Linked DNA regions of Homo sapiens: region 2 is linked to region 1. The links are contacts of gene promoters, found by promoter capture Hi-C in blood cells and fetal thymus (Javierre and others, 2016). All regions are on one chromosome and are shown on one strand. The core of a region is centred on a gene start or on the middle of the fragment in contact, and the rest is flanking DNA. Distances in the headings are between cores, read along the strand shown. Region 1 holds the start of RFPL4B (ret finger protein like 4B). Region 2 holds the start of LAMA4 (laminin subunit alpha 4).

Region 1 (4,196 bases), core at 655-3,154:
GGTTCTTCAAAGAACTAAAAATAGAGCTACTATGTGATCTAGCAATTCTACTTCTGAATATATATCCAAAGAAAATAAAATCAGTACATTGAAGAGATATCTGCTCTCCTATGTTCATAACAGCATTATTCACAGTAGCCAAGATAGAGAATCAACTTATATTCATCAACTGATGAATGCATAAAGAATCAGGATATTCCTCAATAGATGAATACATAAAGAAAACATGGTACATGTACATGATGGAATACTATCGAGTCTTAAGAAATTCTATCATTTTCAACAACATGGAACCTGGAGGACATTATGTTGAGTGAAATAAGCTGGTACCGAAAGGCAAATGCTGCATGATTTCACCTATACGTGGAATGGAAAAAAGTAAAAAAAAATGAACTCATGGAAGCATGGAGTAGAATGGTGGCTACCAGGCACTGGGATGAAAAGAAGACTGAAATGGGGAGATATTGGTTAAAAGGTACAAAATTTTCAGGTAGATAGAAGGAATACTCTTTGGAGATCCATTGTACATCATGGTGGATATAACTAATGATAATGTATAGCACACCTAAAAATTGCTAAGATAGTAGATTTTGAACATTTTCATGACAAAATGATAAGTATGTGAAGTGACAGATATGTTAATTGGCTTGATTTAATCAGTTCACAGTGTATACATACATCAGACAATTAAAAAACAAATAGTAAATCTGGGTAAAGAATATATCTCTTTTTACTATTCCTACAAATTTTCTGTGTCTAAAATTATTTCAAAATAAAATGAAAGAAAAAATAAAATGACATTTTTGAATAATTAAAAAAGAGAGTGTAAGGATTCTTGAGATTAAAATCTCAAGTTTAAAGGGTCTTGAGATTACAATTTAAAAAGTTTGAGCTCCTAAACTTATGTGATCTGCCCACCTTGGCCTCCTGTAATCCCAGCTACTAGGGAGGCTGAGGCACAAGAATCACTTGAACCTGGGAGGTGGAGGTTGCAATGAGCCGAGACTGAGCCACTGCACTCCAACCTGGGAGACAGAGCAAGATTGTGTCAAAAATCAAAACAAAAAAAAACCCCAGCAACGCTTGAGACCTGCTCCTGCAAGTATTTAACTCACAGAAAAGGAGATAGCACCAGGTAAAAATGAAGTAAAAGCTGTGTAAGCTGTGTGTTGGGCCTTGCAGAACAGGAAGCCTGAGAAAGGAGAGGTTATTTAGAATGCAGCCTCTCTTGGGGAAAACGTATATTCCAGCGATCCTCTCTACAATGGGACTTCATTCACCCTCCAAATCCTTTTTTGGAAGTTTGTGTCTTAGCTTTCCTCTGTTGTGACTTTTACTGCTCCTTCTGCTCTCGATACAGACACCATAAAATTTACCGTTCATCCAAGAACACTTTTGAGAGTAAAAAATGGAATTATTAATAATTACAGGACAATAGCCTTGCCTAGCTGCCATCTTTCTTATCCTGTCCAGTAAGTACCCCTAAGAGTAGAATTGTTGAGTCAAAGGACATGAAAACTGTTGTAGATCCTGTCCGCTCATGATTCTATCAGGAATAGGAACACCAATGATTACATTAGCCACGAGGTGATTAGGTTTCAGCAGTGCATTTCTGTATTTGATCTCCAACACATTTTGCTTTTTAAAGTTGAGTTCTGAAATTAGAGACAAGAGCAGATGGCAGTAGATTCACTCTAATTCAGGGAGTTATTAAGAAATTTTGAATTTTTTTACTATATAATTTGAAGCCTGCTTTAATGTCATCATCATAAACGGAAGGGTGGGTTGATGAGTTTACTCAGATTAGAGTGGTACAACCTTTGGGGCGGAGCCTCTGACTCTGATTGGTTGGACAATGTTTTCCAGGCAGTATAAAAACGCTGGTGTCTCTCCGCGGAAACTCCGAGAGGAGCAGAGGTCTGTAGAGGTAGAGACGTAGGCTTCGGATCTTTTAGAATTCTGCTGGAAGTCTCCAAGTCAAGGTAAGTTATACCTTCTGTTTAAGCTATTTCCAATGTCCTATTCTGTCTTTGGCTACAAACTGGTGTTTTCGAATGCCTTTAACTATTTATTTTAGAGGAGAAAGAACTAGTTTTTTCCTGTGCCAGGGAGCTTTCTTCACCTTTAACTATAACTTTGCCATTTAAATTTTTACATATGAACCTCAGGTCACTCTTTGCATGAACTTGTATTTTTATGTGTTTTCAACTACAATGGATTTAAATGGTTTTAAAATGGTTTCTTTTTATTTTCCAACATTTCTTAAAAGATTTCTGGGTTTTCGGCCGGGCGCCATGGTTCGCGCCTGCGCTTTGGGAGGCTGAGGTGGGTGGATCACGAGGTCAAGAGACCAGCCTGTCCAACATGGTGAAACCCCGTCTCTACTAAAAATACAAAACTTAGCCGGACGTGGTGGCACATGCTTGTAATCCCAGCTACTCAGGAGACCGAGGCAGGAGAATTGCTTGAACCCGGGAGGCAGAGGTTGCAGTGAGCCGAGATGGAGCCACTGCACCCCCAGCCTGGGCGACAGAGCAAGACTCCGTCTCAAAAAAAAAAAAAGACTTCACTTCGGGTTTTCACTTAAATATACTTGGCCACTTTTAGTAGTTGTGTCATAATTAGCTGAATCATTTTATTATTGTTAGATAATTCGATTGTTCCTGATCATTTGGGATGGTAGTTAACACTGAAATGAACAACTTGTGAATAAGTGTAGCATTTTTTTTCTTTTGTAAAATTGTTTTCTTAGATACATTCCAAGGTGGGTTAGGCAATTAGATTTCCAGCACCATGTTAAATTTCCCATTAAATTGAAAAAGATAACAGAATTTAAGAAAGAGGTAATCTCTGGTTGTCCGCCAGCCAGGCACCATGAGATTGGAATGCTGATCAGGACTTGGAAGACAAAGTTTTATGTGGGCAGATACCCTGTTTATTACACACGTTTGTGTTTCCAGAGTCCAGTTGAGGCCAAGAGCACAGAAGGGGCTCAATAAGTATTTGTTGGAAAGAGATTAGAGAATGTGTTCTGGGATGTAGGACAGTTCTAGTAACTCAGTCTTAGGCTGGCCTCATCGGTGTTCATCACTTCCTCTCTCTGGTAATGTTGATGCTGCTCCTCTTTCTGTCCCTCATTCTGTTACTACTGTCACCACTGAATGTGTGATTTGTGGGTTCTTGGTAAGGAGTTCTGCTAGTTACTGCTCAGTGCAGGCTCTTATTGGAGAACAGTCCTCTGTTCACATAATCTCAAAGGTGCTGTCCAGCTTTGCGAGGCTGTCTTTGGGTCATGGGTCTAGCCTGGTCCAATATGCTGTGCCCAGCATGTCAGAGACAGCTCACTCAAAGAATAATAGCCATGGTGGGAAGTCCTCTGGGAGCACCAGAGGCTCTCAAGCTTTGGGAGCAGTTGGGGTAACAGGAGGGCATCTTCCTTGTCTGGAACATCTTTTTGGTTTGTATTCAGGCATGATTATTTTGGAGAAGTTGATGACTATTATATTTTTATTCACATTAATTCAAGCCTTAATTAGTTTTCTTAGAGTGCTTTAAAGCATTTCATCTAATAACACTTTGTCCTTAAACTTGATTCTTTTATGGGCTTCTCATTTTGCAGTGGATTTTGCTGGCTTTACTCACATGTGGTAATTTTCCTGGAAATTCTGAGGATTCCTTAGAGTCACTTTTCTGTGATGATTAATGTAGAATTGGCTTTATTTTCATTATTGAATTTAGACATGAACATTCTTTTTCCTGAACTGCAGAGGATCTACAAAGAAATACTGAGTGGAGACTATACTGAGATTCTGTTAAAGACCCACTTGAATTCAGCCCCCATTAGGAGAAACTTTGGCCGGAGCAGCCAACACATCACCTGGAAGTCTTCAGACTAGGTAAGCTGCACTGTCTGAAAAGAAAGTTTCCACTGTCCTATTTCTGTCTTGTGATTATCTAGAGTTTGAAGAGTTTCGAAATCATTTTTATCACCATGACTACATTACTGTGATTCTCTAGCAATTTAGTGTCACTTTCATACACAAACTGCAGAAATATTATTTTTTTGTTATTCTTAATTTCTTAGTTAATAAATTTATTATTATTTATTAAATAATATAATTCATTTATGTATGCCAATAACTTATTTATTAATTTATATTATTTAATCTTGGATTTAGACTATTGAAGAGTGGATT
Region 2 (4,486 bases), core at 1,404-3,903, 93 kb before region 1:
TTTAATTCACTACGTGACATTTTTTTTCCAGCTGGAAGAATATAGATAAACAGATATAATAATATTAAGTAAAAGAAAACCATAAACATAAGGTTCTAAGGAATATTCTCAAATAAGGGTTTCTTTTAATCTGATCATCATCCACATTTTTTATAGTAACAATTGTAACAACTCTTGGCATATATAGGGCATTTATACTATGTCAAGCACTATGCTAAGCACTCTATTTTATCTAATTTCATTACAATAAAAGTATGAGGTATGAAGCAGGCATCAATAAATTCTGTCAGTATCAGTTTATCTGCAGTCTGGGGATCTGTAACTTGACCAAGGTCAAAGAGCTTGAAATTTCAACTTGGGACCATCAGACTGAAAACCTGCAATCTGAAACACTTTGCTGTGCTGCCTTCCTATTATTTCACCAAACATATGAGCACATAAGAAATTTCCTAGGGTCTTAGCATTAATTTTAAGGTTCTCTAAAACTCAAAAAATTACTTTCCTATTTTTTTTGTGGGATGAGAGTTACAAAAAACAGTTGTATATGGCTTGTCTCTTTAGACCTAACAGATACAAATACAGGATGCCCGGATAAATTTGAATTTCAGATGAACAATGAAAACAAATTTTAATATAAATATGTCCTCTGCAGTATTTGGGATGTGATCAAAATTCATTCATTATTTATCTGAAATTCACATTTGAGTGTCCTGCAATTTATCTGCCAATTTTACTCTTAAGTAAAATTAAGCATTTCATTCAGGGACTTTACGTGCTCAAAGCAACAGGTGGAGATAATGCTTCCCTGGGGTTAATTCCAAGCCTGTAGAGAAGCAAAGCCTTCCCATTGCATGAAGTCCCTCCTGGTCTGGCTTCTCCCCAAGTTTCTGGGTATGAAGTTGACCAGAAGCCATGCTCCCTCTTTTTCATGGAGGCTACATTTTATACCACAGTGAGAGGTTGGCATATTCTGACCCTGTCCACTCTCTTTTTTGGGGCAATGTGGGTAGGGCTTACTCTGAAGAAGGACCATGTTCATGCACCTTATTTTTAATCATCAATAATTAATAACTATAATTGTACTAACAATTAACAGAATTCATAGCAATAATCCATGCATCAGTGATGTTAGAAATGGTGTCAATCCACATAACTGTTTTAGTTGTACAGTTGCTGTAACCATAGCTATAGAGTGTGGTGTTTGTTTTGCTAGGTCAATTGCTCCTTCCTTTCCCATGAACTTAGGTGACTTTATTTTCCTCCCTCTTAGCATGTCCCATGCAATGGGCATGCTGTTGTCTGTTTCAGTTCAGGGGTTCTTAAATCACTTGTTCTGGATTCATTCTCCTTTACCAGACCTCTACATTCTGGTTTTGTTTCCAACTTAAAAGCTATTGTAAGGTATTCAAACAGCAGCTCTTTGAATAAACATATTATCAATAGCATATCCTGAGGCTTGATTTTAATGGAAACATCTTGTTTCTGGAATACAATGGCTCGTTTCTACTTAAGATACCCTCTCAGCAGTTGTCTAACAGCTCCTTTCATGACCAGCCACTCTCACTCACCCCCTCACCTTCCCTGCTGCAGAAGACTTCTTGTCTAATATGAGACAAAAAGATCCTGCAGTAGTGTTCCCACTGTCCTAACAGCACAGAGGAGCAGGAAGCCAGTGACAGGGCACACACGTTAAGTGCCGTGGCTTGACAAAATGACTACTGGGACACGCAAGTGGCAGAAGTCACCGATGTGCTGCTGCAGTCCCCGGTGAGAGTCTAGCGGATGAACTCAGAGCACCAACACATGCACTCTCACCCCTTTGAGCAGACACATTCCGAAGCCTCAACTTTCAACTCTCAACATCCAAATGCAACTTACAAAGGAAAACTCTTTATTTCAAGTTTCCGAACTGACCTAGCCCAGGTGAAACTCTCAAGGCACTGGGGAGAGGAAAGAGGCGGAGAGAGAGAGAAGGACGAGTGTGGCACAGCCCGCGGGGGCGCAGGTGCCCCAGCAGGGTGGCAATGGCAGGGACACTGTACCTCGGCCGCAGGCGGCAGGCGTCCCAGAGCCACGCGGGGTTCGCTCGTCTCAGGCGGGTCTTGCCTGCCAACCGCTGAGCTCCCTTCAATGTCAAAAGGAAAAGCGTTGTCGTCCCCGGACGCGGCGCGGGAGCAGGCAGCGCTCCAGAGGAGCCACAGAGGCAGAACCGAGCGCCAGGCTGAGCTCAAAGCCATTTCTCCGCTGACATCCAGTAGTGCTCTTCCAGGGCTCGGGCGCTGTGGGTCTCCGTAGGTCTCCCGCGTGGTGCGGCGGTGCCTCGCTTATTTTCCCTCCTCTCCGTGTGCAGTATCCCGAGGTGGCTGCGCAACCAGCAGCTTAGGAAATAAAGGGAAAGTGCGAGAGTAAGGGAGAGTTCCAGCCTCTCTCTCCCTCTCTCTCTCTCCCCTTCTCCCCCTCTCTCTCCCTCTCCCTCTCCCTCTTTCACTTTTTCTCCTTCCCGCAGAGGTTCTGGCTCAAGAACCTACAGATGGACGGAGCTTACAGTACGGCATCAAAAGGCAGACGGATTGGGGTGAGCCCCGCCAGCGCTAGGCCACCTCCTCTCCCTGGCCGTTCGGGACTGGGGACTGCGCTGTCCTGGCTTCCTTCTCACATTCATTCTCACCACTCCCTTTTTACCTTCTACTCCCAGGCCCTCCCACTCTAAGCTGGCTTTTCAGACACTGAGGTCCGCCTTTCCCTGCGGTCTTCCCTCCCCTCTCAGTTTGGAGCCCCTCCAAGGGCTCCAGAAGAATATTCAGCTTTTGTGACGCTTCCTCACCACTCTTATTTATGTAGTCAAGGTACCGGATGTCTTATCTATATTTACATAGATATTTTATGTGGCCCCCGCTAGTTTGCAGGAAAGTGGGTGGAAAAGGGATTCCAGGGCAGGAACCAAAGGTAGATGATCTCTGAAGGCAGAGGGTCAGGGTGCCCACTTTCTTGAGCAAGGTTTCTCGGGTTTTTTCTGGGGGATAGACTGTTGCACTCTTTGTGCTAATATCTTCTCTTCAGATTCACTGGCCACCCCTCTTCCTCCCTCCAGTCCTCACCCAGAGGGCTTGGGAGAAGAATATCTTTCACTGCAGCGCTGGAAAATGACTTCATTACCCAAATGCATGAACTTTTATTTACAAAGACCATCTTGTTTTCATCCTAAAGAGGTGCTTTGTAAGGGGCCCGGAACAAGGCTTGCAGTGTATGAGCCTGTCAAGTATACTGCCTACAGCCCCGGCCTCTTCCTCTTGGCCTGTAATCTCATGCCTACTACATCTGTCTGAATCATGTAACCTTTCCAAGACTTCAGGGTGAAGTTGGGCTACAGCTATGTCAGGGGTGCCCCTGTGGATGGGATAGTGTCTGCAACAGCTGATAGGTACCTTTGTTTACATTGGCTTCATAACGAGCTCTAAACATTTCCACAAGATCCAACCATGGTTTAAAAATGGTCAGATGAGACAACCATAAAATGACACCCAGGTAAGCTTCCAGGTGAAATAAAGCATTTTTGTATAACCTAATCATAAAATAAATAAATAAAGCCTTTCCATAAAACCTAATCATTAGCTCCATTTCATAGAACAAAAGTCATTTTATCTAAGTGTAAGCAAAACCATTTATTTTGCACCTAACATGTGCCAGATACTTGGCATATGCTATTTGTAAACCTCAGCATTCCTGCAAAGTAGTACCATTATTTTCCTTTTACAGAAGAAGAAAGTGAGGTTCAGAGAGACTAGGACATTTGCCCAAGGTCGCACAGCTGGTGGAAAGCAGAGATGGGGTTTGGATCCAGGCCTCACTGATTCCAAAGCTCTCTTTTACATCTGTATACACGACACTGCAACTTTAAAATAAAGAGTATGAATTCAGAGGTGAAGGAAATGGACACTTTTATTTTTTGAGTGCCTCCCATGTGCAAAAAAATCACATAAATTGTCTCATTTAGGGCTGGGCGTGGTGGCTCATGCCTGTAATCCCAGCACTTTGGGAGGCCAAGGTGGGTGGATCATGAGGTCAGGAGTTCGATACCAGCCTGGCCAACATGGTGAAACCCCGTCTCTACTAAAAATACAAAATTTAGCCAGGCATGGTGGGAGGCGCCTGTAGTCCCAGCTACTCGGGAGGCTGAGGCAGGAGAATTGCTTGAACCCGGGAGGTGGAGGTTGCAGTGAGCAGAGATTTTACCACTGACTCCAGCCTGGGTGACAGAGAAAGACTCCAGCTCAAAAAAAAAAAAAAAAAAAAAAAAAAAAATTGTCTCATTTAATTTCATCTTTATGATAATCTCATGAAGTAGGGATTGTCATACACATTTGGCCATGGGTAAGTGGTAAAATTACTACTATAGCCCAGGTAAATCTGATGGTAAGATCTTTGATTTTAAATGATAAAATTGTATGATACAAAAGAACCAAAGCCAAAGGAAGCAAAAATAATT

The links. Contacts are between HindIII fragments. The CHiCAGO score rates a contact against its expected background, and 5 or more counts as called.
Region 2: a contact is called between the fragment with the promoter of LAMA4 here and the fragment with the promoter of RFPL4B in region 1, in 1 of 17 cell types (monocytes). The highest score is 6.8, in monocytes.

Annotation. Positions count from the first base shown.
Region 1 is chr6:112,345,426-112,349,621 of GRCh38, forward strand. It overlaps RFPL4B (ret finger protein like 4B), which reads left to right and starts at 1,905. Exons shown (of 3, transcript NM_001013734.3): 1 at 1,905-1,982; 2 at 3,768-3,896; 3 at 4,179-4,196. The HindIII fragment of the contact is 3,879 bases long and covers 1-3,398 here.
Region 2 is chr6:112,251,914-112,256,399 of GRCh38, forward strand. LAMA4 (laminin subunit alpha 4) reads right to left here and starts at 2,654. Exons shown (of 39, transcript NM_001105206.3): 1 at 2,546-2,654; 2 at 2,043-2,378. The coding sequence starts at 2,237. All of the region lies in intron 2 of LAMA4-AS1 (LAMA4 antisense RNA 1), which reads left to right. The HindIII fragment of the contact is 4,256 bases long and covers 1-3,528 here.